Regions from separate parts of the Homo sapiens genome. Here all the other regions are linked to region 3. Evidence: promoter capture Hi-C in 16 types of primary human blood cells and fetal thymus (Javierre and others, 2016). All regions are on one chromosome and are shown on one strand. Each heading gives the region's core, a stretch centred on a gene start or on the middle of the fragment in contact. The rest is flanking DNA. Distances are from core to core; before and after follow the strand shown.

Region 1 (4,951 bases), core at 2,319-4,818, 2.6 Mb before region 3:
GCCCCACTTTGCTAGGCAGGAAGTGGCAGGGATGGAGAAAGCAAGGCGGCGCTGACGCCAAACAGGTTTTGGGTTGGCGCGGCTGAGGGCCGGGAACTGGGGCAGCGAAGGAACGAGGCAGGGCGGCGAGGGTCCCAAGAGAAAGGGCTGGCTGTGGCCCGGGGCGCCGAGCTCGGCCTGGAGTGCGGCCTGACCTCGTGAAATGTCCCAAGGGCGGCAGGCTTGGGGAACTCGGGCTTGGGGAACTCAGGAAAGCAAAGGCTGCGGTTCCTTTTGCTCGGCCCGATCCTCCTTTAAAGACAGGTCTCAGTTTTCCCGGACTTTTTCCTCCGAGTTTCCTGGCGCCTGCTGGGGTGAGGGCCGTGACCCTCGGAAGCGAGCCCCCCGGGCGGGGACGAGACCGGAGCAGGCCTGGCCTCGCGCCGGGGTGGGGTGGGGTGGGGTGAGGTGGGGGGCTTGGTTCGGATTTCCGGCATCTTTGAACCCCAGGCCATTCCCGGAGAAGCTCTGCCCCCTCCCGCGCCCCTCCCTGCTCAGGACAGCTGCAGAGGTTCTGAGTTCCGGCAAATGAGCCGTCAACATCTGCCCGAAGTCTGCAAGGCCCGGAAAGGTTTATGACTCTCCGGGCTTCCGAACTAGAGTTTATGTGCAATTATTTTCTTTCTTTCGTTTGCAACAGAATTAGATTTGGAGATTTTGTGTTCTTCTTCCTTTTCCCTTTAGTCTAATGCACAAGCAGAAAAAAGCAAAAACAAAAACAAACCCAAGACTGTGCAGAGGGTGCTACGGCGGGAAGAAGTCAGTTATTTTCATCTTAAAGAATCTGAGTTGAATAGAGAGGGAAATGAGGGGCGGGTGTTCGCTCCAACGAAATCGCTTGGAGGATCATGGGGCGTGTGTCCCTGTGTGCGGAACTGGGAGGAAAACGCAGCCCCCAGTTTGGTAAATGGTGAAGCAGCGGTAGGCCGGTCGGTGGCGCGGATTTAAGATTTGCTGAAGGCACTACCACAGATGTAGCTCTCTGGAACTTCCATCCCTCCTCTCCTACCACCCCCCAAAAAAAGACAAAACCGAGTTCAGACCGGCTCCCCCAACACCAAGCCGCTTCTATTTATCAAGTGGGTCAACTTCCACTCGGAAGCACCTCGCGGGGCTCGGCTCCAGGGCACCTGGTGGCTGGGGAGCTGTATTGTTTTCCTGGGCACGGAGGTTCGGCGCCGGTTTTAGGATTGTGCAAAAAGAGAGTAGAAGGTACAGAGATTTATTTCTGCTTTTTGCTGTTCAGCCGCCGTTTGCCCCAGCGAGGTGGGCTGGAGGCTGAATTTCAAGCCTTGTTTAACCTCTACAAGAGACACCCTCCATTCAGCCATCTCACTTTCTCTCTGGCCTCCCTCTCTCTTTTTTTCCTTTCCGTTCTCTCCGTCCTTTCTCTCTATCTCTGTCTCTGTGTGTGTCGTGTTTGTTCCCGTGCCCTCCTCTCCGACCTTGGCCGGGGCTCCTAGTCCTGAGAGAAACGGCGTTCGGTGCGCCGGCGGTGGCTATGCGGCTGGCTCTTTCGGGGCTCCCGGGACTAGGTTGGGGAAAGAGGGCATCTCCCCGGCCTCTCGGGGCCCAGCCCAGTCTTCCTAGATCTGGCGTCCGCCCTTCCCTCCCCTCCCGCACTGGCAGGAGAGAAATGGCCGCAGTGTGGGCCGCGGGGCAGCTAGGACTGGAAAGCGGGGACCCTGGAGGGTGCGATCGCGGACGGGGTGTGCGGGCGCGGGTCGTGTGCGTGTGCGTGCAGGGTTCCGACCACGGGGACACGAGCTTGTTTGTGGCAGTGTCCCACATCCTGTGGCCCAGCCACGACGACCCCTTGCAAAGCCTCTTGCTCTGGGGACAGTCCCTCCGAGGCGCGGCGGCACCTTACTGAAGGGCGGCGAGCTGGGGGCCGAGTGGGGAGGGGGCGCCGTCGGGGCGCCGGGCGCTGGGCTTACAGCAGAGCCGCGGGCCGCGGGGTCGGAAAGTCCTTCCGGGGCGGGGCCGCAGCGGCCTCTTCCCGCAGCCCCTCGGGCCCGGGCCCCGGTGGAACGGAAACCTCCCCCTACCCCGGGAGGGGCTGCCAGCGGGCTGGGGGTGCGAAAACGGCGGCAGGAGCGGGCGAGGGGCCCGGGCCGCGCACTTTGCGCCTGGGTTTGCGCGCCGCGGCCGCGGGAGTCCCGCGCGGACCGGCCGGACGCCCGGCCTCCCCCAGCCCCAGCTTTTTGTGTGTGTGTGCCTGGCGGCGTAATTACTGATTTGATTCCAATCCATTATTTAGACAATTGAACCTACAATCTCGTCTTTAGTAAAATGAGGCGAAGTCAGATTTGATTACAGGTTCAGTCCCAGCGACAAGAGCTCGAAACCCGATGGGTTAATAACAGATCACGAGTAAATTATTCATGATTTTACGAGCTCTTTAGCTCCATTGAATCGGCCTAATTGAGAGGAAAAAAAAAAAAAAGGAGAGAGAAAGCCCGGGTCCTCCCCCTCCCCTCGGCCCCTCGCTCCTCCCCGGATCCGATCCTGGGGAATCTCGACCCGCCCCCGGGCACTGGGGGCGGGAGTGAGGGGGTTCGGGGCGCCGGCCAAACCTGGGCCCCACGGCTGCCTCCCCCGCCGCCGCCCCCTGCCCTTGCCTCTGGCCGGCCTCGGCCTCGCTACTTAGGGCCGGCTCCTTTCCCTTTTTCTCCACTCCCCTTCTTTCCCCTTTTCTCTACTCCCCCGCCAATAACGGCTTCGGAAAAGGCCTCCCCCGCAGGGACCGGGTCTCCCGGAGCCCCGGGATTCAGCTCGGCCACCGGACCCTCGCCACAAGCTGCGCCTGTTTCCGGGACTCGCTTTCCCCTCCGCTCTCCCTATTTCTTGCTGTCTTTGTAGCTGTCTCTCTGTGGTTCTCCTGGCTCCTTCGCTTTCTTTTCCTCTGTCTGTCCTCTCTTTTTCCTGGCTCTGTCCATCTTCCGTCCCTACCCCCTCTCTCTTTCTCTCCCTCCATTCTGCCTTTCTGTGTTTGTCTTTTTCTCTCCTTTCTCTGCCCTTTCTGTCCCCCTCCCCCGCACTACTACCCCACCTAGGCGGCACTCAGGGCAGGTCCCTTGGGCCCATGGGGGCGCCGGGGTCCCCACGGAGCTCATTAACAGCAGCCAGGCCCAGGCGGGGGCTCGGTGGAGGGATGGGCCCAAAGATACCCCGTAGGGAGGCTGCCCCACCCCCAGTGGAGCTGGGGACTGGGGGAAAGAAAAGGGTTGCTCACCTCAGCGGGTTCCAAGCAGTTCTGGTGGATCAGGTTCAGAGGCATCCTCTGATCCCCTTTAAATTGCCGGACCCGCGCTCTTCACTCTGGGCGTGCTCTCTGTGGGAATGCAGCCCCGGGGGTGAGGGGACCTGAGTGCCGGTGGAAAGAGGCCCCTAGGAGGTGTAGCCCCTAGCTAACAGCTCCAAAGGCAGGGGCAAGACTTGTATCTTGCAAATTCTCTCTGCAAGGGGCTCTTCCCCATCTGGGCAGGGGAAGGGGGAGGTCACCAGCAGAGTAAAAGTCCTTTGGAGGTAGTGTGGCCAGGCAAAATGCAGCATCCCCAGTTAAATTGGAATTTTGGGTACGTAACAAATACATTTTTAGTGTAAGTGTCCCCGGCAATATTTGCATTTTGGAAAAATAACGAATAAATTTGAAATTTGTAGTATAAGTGTCCCGTGTAATATTTGAATTTTAGATAAATGACAATTTTTTAGCATAGCTGTGTCACCTGTAGTATTTGAATTTCAGGTAAACAACAAATACATTTTTAGTATAGGTATGTCCCATGCAATATTTAGGACATGCTTATACTAAAAAATTACTTATTATTTTTCTGAAATTTATATTTAACTGGGCAACCTGTATTTTCATTTGCTAAATCTAGAGCTCTGTTACGGGTATGTGATGAGGGCACAAGATACCTTCTCAGTTCTCACTTTAGGCGGACCGAATGTACACCCCTTATGAGGCTTACCCCAAGGCAAGACCTTAAGTGTGGCATGGCTCGGGAGGTGCCATGAGGAGGCGACCTTGGGAGGGGTCCTGCAGGTCCCCATCAGCTTCCAGGTGGCTGAGCAATTTTCTGAGGCCCAGGTTTTCACCCATATTCCCCACCCCCAATGCCAGCCAGGCATTGGCAGCGTGGCCCCCATGAGGCTCCTTGTGGTTAGGGACAGGCTCCCTCCTCCCTTCGTGGTGTAGTGGAAGAAAACAAGGAGTACTCCAGTGCTAAATCTAGGCTCAACAGATCAAGATCAATCTAGCTGGTTACCGGTGGTGTGGCAGTGTGCAAGTGGCTTCATTTCCCTTAGCGTTAGTTTCCACATCTCTAAAATGGGAATAGTCATAGCCACCTCTCTGAGAGGTAATGATGTACAGTGACATTTGTAAAGCCAAACACACACCATAGGTGTCTACTACATGTTTATTTCTGCCTCGGACTTCCTTCCCCGTCCACTCTGCCGCTCTCTGTGGACTGCCGCAGATCTCTGAACTTCCCCGAGCCTAATTTGCTCCACTTGTTCACGGAGAAACAATCATCTTACAGGGTAGCGATGAGGATTAAACTGCAAAATGCAGTTTCCAACCTTTGGCCCAGTGCCCAAGGCCCAGGGGTCCCTCAGTACTTTTGGGTGTGGCAAAATGAACATGAATCTCTGTTTCAGCAGTTTCTAGGTGCCGGTCCCAGACACGGTAGGGGGAGACGGCAGAAAGCACTCCTCCTTAGAGTGCCTTGGAAAACAGGAGGAGGGCAGGCCCAGAGACCCTGTCCTGCTGTGTCCAAAGTCAAGTGACTTCCCTTGCTGAGCCTCAGTTTCAACATCTGTAAAAACGGGAAAAATAATACCTGGTGCTCCTAGGATTGTTTTAAGTACCTAAAGAAAATGTGCCTGGAAAGCCCTTTAACACATC
Region 2 (4,448 bases), core at 646-3,145, 2.6 Mb before region 3:
AACCCGGGAGCCTCAGTTCTTCAGATACAAAAGCATTTAGATCGCTTTAGACCGGTTAATCCTGAGTCTGGCTCGGGTCTCTTTTGTTTCCCAACTCCATTGTGGGTTTTGTGCAGTTTCTCTCTGTTCGCGTGATTGACTAGCCAATAGATGGTAATTATCCAAATGTCCCCTCTGTCCTTTGACTGACTTCTCTGTATTATGGGCAACTGTCATGCATTCTGTCATTCCATATCATATTACACATATTATCATATGAAGTCTCCCCCCACCCTTTAAAGGAGGGAGCCTCAGCCCAGATGCTGCTGCTTTTAAAAGGAAGGGCCCCGAATAATTTGTGCGGGGCACGGTCGGGAATACAGAGCAGGGGACTCCCGAGATGGGAGGTTCTGCAGGTAATTTGTTTTGCTGGCTGGGGGTAGGGGGGGTAGGGGTGGTCTCTGAGGTTGGAGTTATAAGAACTGTGCTGGGGGCTTGGAGCACGCTTGTGCCAGCTTGTATTCCTCTGCCCAGGATCTTGGAGTAGTTTGGATGGATCTGGGATACCTTCTGGAGAAACTTGGAATCCATTTTTTGACCCCAGAATATCAGAAAAATCTGCAGGATCGGGTCCTTTGGGAGTAATTAGTTCTTAGCGACACATGCTCAAGACAACAACCCTTGGGATCCCAAAATATATCTCTTCTACCTGTGGCCCCTCACAGGATCAGTCCTTTGGACTCTTGCCCCGGTTTGCTGCCAAGCAGGCTGGGGATGGAGGAGCCAGCTGTGTCTGTTTCAAACCCCCACAAGCTGATGCTGAAGCTCTGAGAAGGGACAAGCTTTTCCAGTGATGCTTTTGCACAGATAAACTTAGTGCCCCTTGGTGCAATTGTGCTTGCCATCACTTAAGAGGGAGGCAGGATTTATAACAAGGAGACTTTGCAGGCAGAGACTCTGGGGTCCTCTGAATCTGTGGGCAGGACTAGCCTTTCTTTTGCTAAAATGTGAAAAAAGTGTTTTATTATTGCAATGGATATGAAGTGCCGCCCAGATGTACAGCCTCGCAGGCAGTTAATTACCTTGTTCTTCATCAAATATATGAGCAATAAATTCTCCAGGAAGGGAAATGTGTGTGTGTGTGTGTGTGTGTAGATAAATAGGTGGATAGATAGATAAATGCAGGAGAGAGAAAAACACACTCTTTTAAGACCACAGAAAGAGGCAGACTATTTTATGGGAAGCTTGATACACTGCTGCAAGATGCTTTGAATTTTTCAATGATCAAATATACATGATCAAGCTGTGCATGTTAGGGTGCGAGGTGCACCGACGGTCAATGGCTATTGATCAGGCTGTTAAGTATTTCTGTTCAGTTTTATAAATATAGATGGATCCCAGATGATTTAAACAACTAGATAGTTAAGAAACTAGCCTTCTACATTTCTTTGGAGAAGGGGAAATGGCTGGTCAGTTGCATAAACCCAAACCATTGTTCACCCCCATACTTCCTCCCTGCCCCCAAAATACCTTGGAAAATGTGAGGCTCATTTTCAAGAGTGTTCAAAAATAGAGTAAAAATATTCCAGATGTTTTGTTTGGGGTCTGCCAATAATAGTCACCTTACCTGAGCCTGGCCTTATTCACAGGCTGGGAGTTTTCTTCTCTCTCTTTCTCTCTCTCTCTCTCTCTCACACACACACACACACAATTTTGCAACCACAATTTTGATCCAGACTGCCAGAGAGATGGGGAGGGTGCCATTTCTAGGAGTGGGTCTAAGGTCCCTAAAACCCTTCTGGTTAGGAACCTGGTAAGCCAACCACATGACCCTTCCCAATGAACTAATTTCTCACTAGTCTAAAGATCTATTTAGAAAGGTGTGGAGGGGGTGAAGGATGGAGATTTAAAGGTAACCTCTAATTGGTCTGGAAAAATTAAGCTGATGACACCTTGAAAATCTCTCTGTTTCTTTTTCATTCTCTGTCTCTCCACCATCAAGAGATGACATCTTGAAAATCTCTGTTTCTTTTTCATTCTCTCTCTCTTTTCTATTTTTCTCTGATATTACCTTCTAGAAATTAAAAGTGGACTTGAAAGAAAAGGGCAATGAAAAACAGTGGGGGGAGGAGAGAAAGCGAACTTTTTATTTTTTTTTTTGTGGTGCGTAGCAATCTTAATTATAACCACCCAATTAGCTATTTTGTATTTTGTAAAAGGATTCAATAAATCAGCCTTCTCCCAGATCGGTAAAACTTAAGCATACAGACAATTGATAGTTATGTTTTGTTTCCACATCTTAAAAAAACAAAGTGAAGATTTTTGATTTTTCTATCTGCAGACCAGTCTTTACCAGCTAAGTGCCCCTCACCAGAGGAGCTGAGGCATCCCTATTGATAAAACCCCCTGGAAATTGAACCAAAATTGGCATCCCTCAAAAAAGTTGATCCACCTAGAAACGGATGAATCAGTCCTGATTGGGTGGACATGCCCTTTCACCTCATTGTGTCTGACCTATCACTTAATTAATCTCTCCCAGAGCAGAGCTGTTGACAATACCAAAGATAAGCAGTATTTTGAACAAAGCAGGAAGCTTTTAAAAGAACAAGCCACAGTGAGGTTTGAGGCTCTTAAAAATGTGTAAATCATCAGCATTAGGATGTAAGGTACCTTTATAACGTAGCTGAAGCTCAGAGATGATCCCACCTTTGCCAGAAACTTTCTGTGCCTTTCTTTAGCCATGGATGTCTTTAGACATTCATATTCTGCCTCTCCCCTCTGCTGCTGGTTCCCTTTCTCCTGTCTTTCCCTTTCTCTGGATTCATACTCTCCATGGCTACTTTCCTGAAAATTGTTCTCTGCTTTCCAGCCTTGCCTTTGGCTCTTCACATCCTTTTTTTAGTGTTAGGGCTGTCGAGGTAGTCAGCTTCTAAGGCTTTGGGGGACAAACTATCGACTGCATCTGCTGGTACCTATGAAGGAGGACATTTGTGCTGCAGGCACCTTGGTGACATACAGGGAATAGTTCATTAATTAAAAGACTTGCTAATTGCTGCTTGAATTACTGTACAGAAGGAATGAAATGAGTTTGTAAAAGATGACGATTTGGAGAATGCATTTTTTTTTGTTTAAAATATTTTTATAAACAGCTCCTAGAAAATGTGTTGCTTTTGCTGTTGACTCTATCGTCAACAATTCAACTGAGCTTCAATTAATGATAATATATGGTCTGGGATCCTTCGCTGGGCCCGACTGATGGAAGAGCTTTGTTGAATTTGGTGCAGGTGGCACTGTTTAATAAGCACAGGAAAGAGTGAATAATGTAGTGCTTGCAAAGAGAAGTAAATGCAAAATAGATCGCTCTAATTATGGCAGCCCCCAGAAATGGAGATGCAAGCTGAAATGGCCAAGTAGCTGGGAAATTCTAAATAGTGTCGATTGTCCCCTGCCTTTTTACTTTCGAGGGCTGACATGGTAGCTTAAAAGTAAATTTGGGTGAGCTCATCTCACTCAACACAAACAGAAATTCAAAACCTGAGTCTGATGACCTATCAATGTTTGCCTTCACTGTCTAGAATCCATTACCAGATAGTAAAACTCAGCACTAAAACAGGGCCATCTGAACATTTCTTCCTGCAAGAGATCGGCACAAGCTCTTTACAACTAGCATTTGTATTTTATTGCAAAGTGCCAGGAGATTTTGTTTTTGTTTTTGTTTTGTTTTGTTTGAATTTCTTTATGCTTGAGAAAATTAGCCTATAGGAAATCAAAGTGTGAATACTTAAGCAAACAGAATTTCTCATATACCTGCAAGGGCTTGTAGTGATTTTCATTCATGCAAAGATAATCAATGGGACATTAGTTGTTTTAATTAATGGAAGAATAAAAATGTTGGGGAGGGGTGCCAAGGGACTGGGCTTCAGCTGAAGCATGTGTGGGAAATGACTCATTCCTCACCTAAAGAGACAATGCCAACTTCCCAAAAGCAGGAGAGATTTGCTAATCAAACCAGTGGAAAGTTGGACTTGGGTGTGGGAGGGGTCCTGTTGAAAGTGTAGGGGGAGATATGGTGGTCACACTGGGCATTTTTCCTCCCCTGCAACCTCAGTGTTCCCCTTGGAAAACTAACACATCCTACATCATCTTCTAGGAGAGGAATTGTCTTACTTCCTAGGAAGTTGCACTTTGTGCTGGGAGCCTAGCATGCTTTGTGATGGTAAAATAGTGCCAGTGGCTGGGAAGCTCAAATCAACATTCTTTAGCCTGGACTAAAGAGAGGCTGGGGCTGAATGGGTGTGCTAGACATGGGGTGATCTGTAAAGCGTGGCTCCAGCAAGTGGGTAGAGACCCTCGTCCTCTGATTGAGAACCCAAGGAGGAGCCAAGTCCAGCATCTTTAGCTAAAAACTCCTTTTTTGTTATGTAGAAATGTTTACCAAACCCAACTCCAGTCAGTGCTGGCTGGGCACT
Region 3 (4,495 bases), core at 1,996-4,495:
CTGAAATCTGAGCGGGAGAGCATCCCGAAGCCGCCTGCGTGGAGCGAGCAGCCCCCGCGTCATGGGCCAGAGGCGCCCGGGAGAATCTGCGGGTCACGGATCACACCCGCAGGGGCCTGGCGGAGCAAGGTGCCGTTCGCCGCCTGCGGGCAGGAGCCGGCTCTGGGCCTCGGCCCCTGCTGTGCCGTCCAGTCGGCCGCTTCTTCGCTTCTTCGGCAAGGGAAGCGGTGGAGAGGCGCGGGAGCCCCGATTGTGCTGGAGAGATCTGGGACCCCTGCGCGTCTGCGTGCGAAGGACCCGAGACCGGCCAACTCAGCTGGGAGCACGGGACACGAGGAGTGAGGACAAAGGGCAAGGAACGGGGCCTATAGGGAGGGTGTGTGTGTGTGTGTGTGTGTGTGTGTGTGTGTGTGTGTGTGTGTGTGTGTGTGTGTGTGTAGGGGGAATGAATGGACAGCGGGGAAGGCATGCAGAGGGGCCCAAGGGGTGTGGACTCAGCAGCCCCACCCCAGACCAGAGAAGGCAGCCAGGCTCTGGCGTCCACCGAGCCAGCGCCCCTATCTGGGCGCGGGCCGCATGGCGGCAGACCACCCTATATCCGCCTTGGTGGCGTGGGATATGACTGGCAGGAGCGCGGAAGAGGCGCTGAGAATGCATGCGCACCCGGACAGACCAGACGCGGCACGGAGGGGGTACTTCCCACAAGTCCTCCTGCCTTGAGACCAGGCCTTCGAGTGGTCCGGGGAATGCGCCTCTGGGCACAGCCAGCGGCCCCAGATCGGCACTGGACGCCAACCCGAGTTAGAGAAGCCTGGGAGACTGGATCGCAGGGGCCCTCATTCAGCCAAGGAGGGGGAAAGGAGAGCTGTAGGGTAGGAGAGGCCAGGCACAGGGAAGGTGGGGAGGGGATGGAGCCTTGCGCCAGGAGTTGGGGGTGCAGGGCCTGTGACGAGAGAGTATTACCATGTGCACCCTGAAGGAGAGGGAGAGGGTCTGGGCCTGGAACGAGGACTCTCGCCTGCAGGCAGTCGCCCAGCCCCGGTTGCAGGGATGGACCGCGACCAGCAGAGGGCAGAAAGTGCCTGGTCCGCCCGCCGGCCCCGAGCCGCGCTCCGCGCCTCGGGACTCTGGCTCTGTGCGCCGAAGCCTTGCCCGCCCGGCTTCTCCCTGCAGCAGCCGCGCCCCCGCCCCAGATGCCCGGAGAAGGCGGCTCAGGCCCAGCCCAACTTCGCGGGTCCAGGCCTGGGGTTTCCAGGTCAAGCAAAGAGGGGACCGAGATGTGGGAGAGAAACTCCACATTGACTGTCCACTCTCCCCGACCTAGCCACACAAAGGCGCCTAGAAATACACGAAGGCACAAAGCCCCCCACCACACACAAACACACACACACACACACACGCTAGGAGACACGCGAGCACACAGAAGCATTCAGAACCCCGGAGATAAGCACAGATACGCAAAGCTGACAGAGACACCCATACAGAAAAGGATCGCAGACACAACACAGAGGCTGAGACACGCACAAAGACTTAGGCCCCCGCATGAAATGATGCGGACACACACCCCAGACACAGGCACGAAGGACCCACACATTCACATACACACGGGTGCAGGGGACTCAGACACAGATCCACAGATTCACCCCTGGGAGTCTGGAAGGTTGCAGGGACACACATACCGTGTGTGCAGAGCCAAGGAGCACACGGAGGCAAGAGCCGCAGAGGCGGGGGCCCGACACGCACAGACACACACAGATACCCACCGACACACACGCAGGTAGGGTAGGGCGGGAGCCTCTAATCCTCCACAAAGCCGGGCCCCTCCGCGGGGCCCCGCGGCGCAGGGGGCCACTTCTGACCAAGCCTCCCGCAGGTTCCAAATCCGATCCGCCCTTTCGCCTCCAGCGAGGTCAGGGGACCCGCCCCCCATGCCCTCCGCCCCCGCCCGGCTCCGCGCCGCTGCCTCGCTCCGGGAGGGGCCGGGGCCGCCCCGCAGCGGATCGCGGGGGGTCAGCCCGCCGCTACCCCGGGCCGCAACCGCCCCCCTGCTCCCCGGTGAGCCGCGCGTCGGTGGGGACCACGGGCCGCAGACAGCCGGTCCGACGCTGTGGCCTCTCGCACCGGACGCGGGTGCCAGGCCCGGCTGGCGCGGAAGTCGGCAGCTCCATCTCGCCAGCTTTCGCGTCCCGTTGCCGAGGTCCACTTTGCCCAGGCTGGCTAGAGCACTGTCCTTGATCCGCGCGTCCCAGCGACCCCTGGCCGGGCACCCGACCCGCCAAAGGACCCCGATCTTGGCAGCCAACCTAATTTCTTCAGAGCCGCTACCCTGGGGCCACCACTCCCTCCTAGCGCCCCTCACTGCAAACCCTAGGAGGCCCGGGTCTTGCCCACTGCTCCTGCCCCTGCCCGGGGACCCCTTTTCCAGCCTTAGTTGTCCTCTAAACTCTCGGTCGCCTGAACCCAGGCCTGACCTTCCTTGTCGTCCCAGTGTCCCCCATTCTCGATCCCGGGGCCCCAACCTCCCATCGGCTCAGTCCCCCGCCCAATCTCTGCCAGGCCCGGAGCTTTCCCAGACCCCTCACCCACACTCCAGGCTCACTCCCCGTTCCTGGGCCTGGGCCCCCCTTGCACGAGTCCAGGGCCAGCCGTCCTCGCCTTCTGCCCGCCCCCGTCCTTCGTTCCTGGGAGCCGGCCCTCTCCGCGGACCAAGCGGCCCCGAGCAGGCGCCGCCGCCCGGGGGACTCCGACTCAGCCCCCGCGACCTACCTCGGCCGACAGTCGGGGGTTCCCAAGCGGCCACTCCCGGCCGGCGCCGTCCCCTGGCGGAGCCGCCGCGCTCCCTGCCGTCCGCGCAGTCTGGCCTCGCTCGGGGCCACTCCTCGTAGCGCTGGAGCTTTACAAAATATTAATAATAAAGAAGGCAGAGGAGAAAAAAGAAAGCCTTCGCTCCCCAACTCCCAAATCAATTTTTCAAGGGGGTGGAGCAGAGGGATTTGTTTCGAAGACGATCAAAACTTCTGCGAGGGGCCCGCGGGGCGGCCGGGCCGGGGAGCCGGGGCCTGAGCTCGGGGCCAGGCGCGGCGCGGGGCGCGGGCCAGGGGCGCGGAGCCCCGGGGCGCGCGGGGGGGCGGGACGGCACTATTTGACGTGGAGCCGGCGGCGCATCCCGGCGCAGGGATACCGGCCGCGGGGTTCAAATGTCAGGAAGTTTCGGGAGGTGAGGCGGCCCGTATCCCTCCGCCGCCAGCCCCAGCTCTAAACCCGGCGGCTCAGCGGGCGCACCATGGCACTGGAGTAGCGCGGGGAGCGCGCCCGGAGCCCCGCGGCCCGCTGCGCCCCGCCCGGGACCCCGCTGCGCCGCGCGCCCCCCCCGCGGCCCGCGGGGCCGCCCCTGCACCCCCACCCCCTCCCCCGCCTGCCGCCGCCGCCACCGCCACCGCCGCCGCCGCCTCCTCCCCGCGGCTCCGTCTGCAGCAGCCGCCGCCGCCGGGTTCCGGGACTGACAAGCAGGTGACAGAGGAGCCGGCGCGCGTGGCTGCAAGTGTCCGGGAGAGCGCGGCGCGGGCTGCAGCCGCCCCGGCCCGCCCGCACGACGCCGGGGCCCGGGGCCAGCGCGTCGCCGCTCCACGATCGCCGGGGGCCGGCGCAACCCCTGCCCTGCGGGGGCCGCGCCTCCCCGGTTCCAGGGCCGCGGCGGCGGAGAGCGGGTGGACGGGCCGGCGGGCGAGCAGCCCGGCCGGCGGGGTCCGCAGCGCGCCCCGCGTCCCATGGATATAGCAACAGGTCCCGAGTCGCTGGAGAGGTGCTTCCCTCGCGGGCAGACGGACTGCGCCAAGATGTTGGACGGCATCAAGATGGAGGAGCACGCCCTGCGCCCCGGGCCCGCCACTCTGGGGGTGCTGCTGGGTGAGTGCGGGGTCGGAACGCCCGAGTGGTCTCGGGCGTGGGATGGGGCGTCGTCCGGCTGTGGACACGGGCGTTGGGGCCAACGGATAAAGGAAATGGGTTTGCAGGACATGGGGAGGAGGCAGAGACAGGACTCCTGGAGTGATCGCCAGAGGGCCGCAAGTACGCCTCCGGCAGGCGTCCTGAGGGGACAGGACAGCTCCAGTCGCCACCCACCATCCTTTCCAGGCTTAGGTTCTAGAGCTGCCACTCCGATGTGGTAGGTGGCGGGTGGCAGGGGTGATGGAGGACCTAGCAATCACCTTGGCGAGCTTGGGAGAGGCGCAAGGTCACCTGGGGTGGGGGAGATTCTAAGAGAAAAACGTCTCCCTGGTCACTCAAACCACAGATTTTGGGGAGATCGGGGATAGAAGACCACGAACGCCACCGTGGGGCGTGTCAGCCAGCGAGCGCCCCAGCCTCACCTCGCCTGTCTTGGTCCCAGCCGGCCACCCTGCGCCGTGCTCGTTGTCATTTGTCTTAACACGGAGCGCGGATTCTCCGGAGAAGGGGAGAGCACAGCGCCGAGCCAAGGCTCGAGGCCCGCGGC

Evidence for each region. Contacts are between HindIII fragments. The CHiCAGO score rates a contact against its expected background, and 5 or more counts as called.
Region 1: a contact is called between a fragment that was not itself captured here and the fragment with the promoter of LMX1B in region 3, in 2 of 17 cell types (total B cells and naive B cells). The highest score is 5.4, in total B cells.
Region 2: a contact is called between a fragment that was not itself captured here and the fragment with the promoter of LMX1B in region 3, in 2 of 17 cell types (total B cells and naive B cells). The highest score is 9.8, in total B cells.

What each region holds. Positions count from the first base shown.
Region 1 is chr9:124,015,802-124,020,752 of GRCh38, forward strand. The region is part of intron 3 of LHX2 (LIM homeobox 2); the gene reads left to right. Among named protein-coding and RNA genes, the nearest start is that of LHX2, 6.5 kb to the left of the region's middle. The HindIII fragment of the contact is 9,872 bases long and covers 1-4,951 here.
Region 2 is chr9:124,001,303-124,005,750 of GRCh38, forward strand. No RefSeq gene overlaps it. Among named protein-coding and RNA genes, the nearest start is that of LHX2-AS1, 5.9 kb to the right of the region's middle. RefSeq lists enhancers at 1-154, 3,524-4,281. The HindIII fragment of the contact is 1,349 bases long and covers 1,222-2,570 here.
Region 3 is chr9:126,610,683-126,615,177 of GRCh38, forward strand. It overlaps LMX1B (LIM homeobox transcription factor 1 beta), which reads left to right and starts at 3,246. Exons shown (of 8, transcript NM_001174147.2): 1 at 3,246-3,906. The coding sequence starts at 3,768. LMX1B-DT (LMX1B divergent transcript) reads right to left here and starts at 3,117. Exons shown (of 2, transcript NR_184148.1): 1 at 2,767-3,117. RefSeq lists enhancers at 1-230, 2,174-3,142, 3,398-3,979, 3,980-4,495 and a silencer at 952-1,021. The HindIII fragment of the contact is 12,076 bases long and covers 1-4,495 here.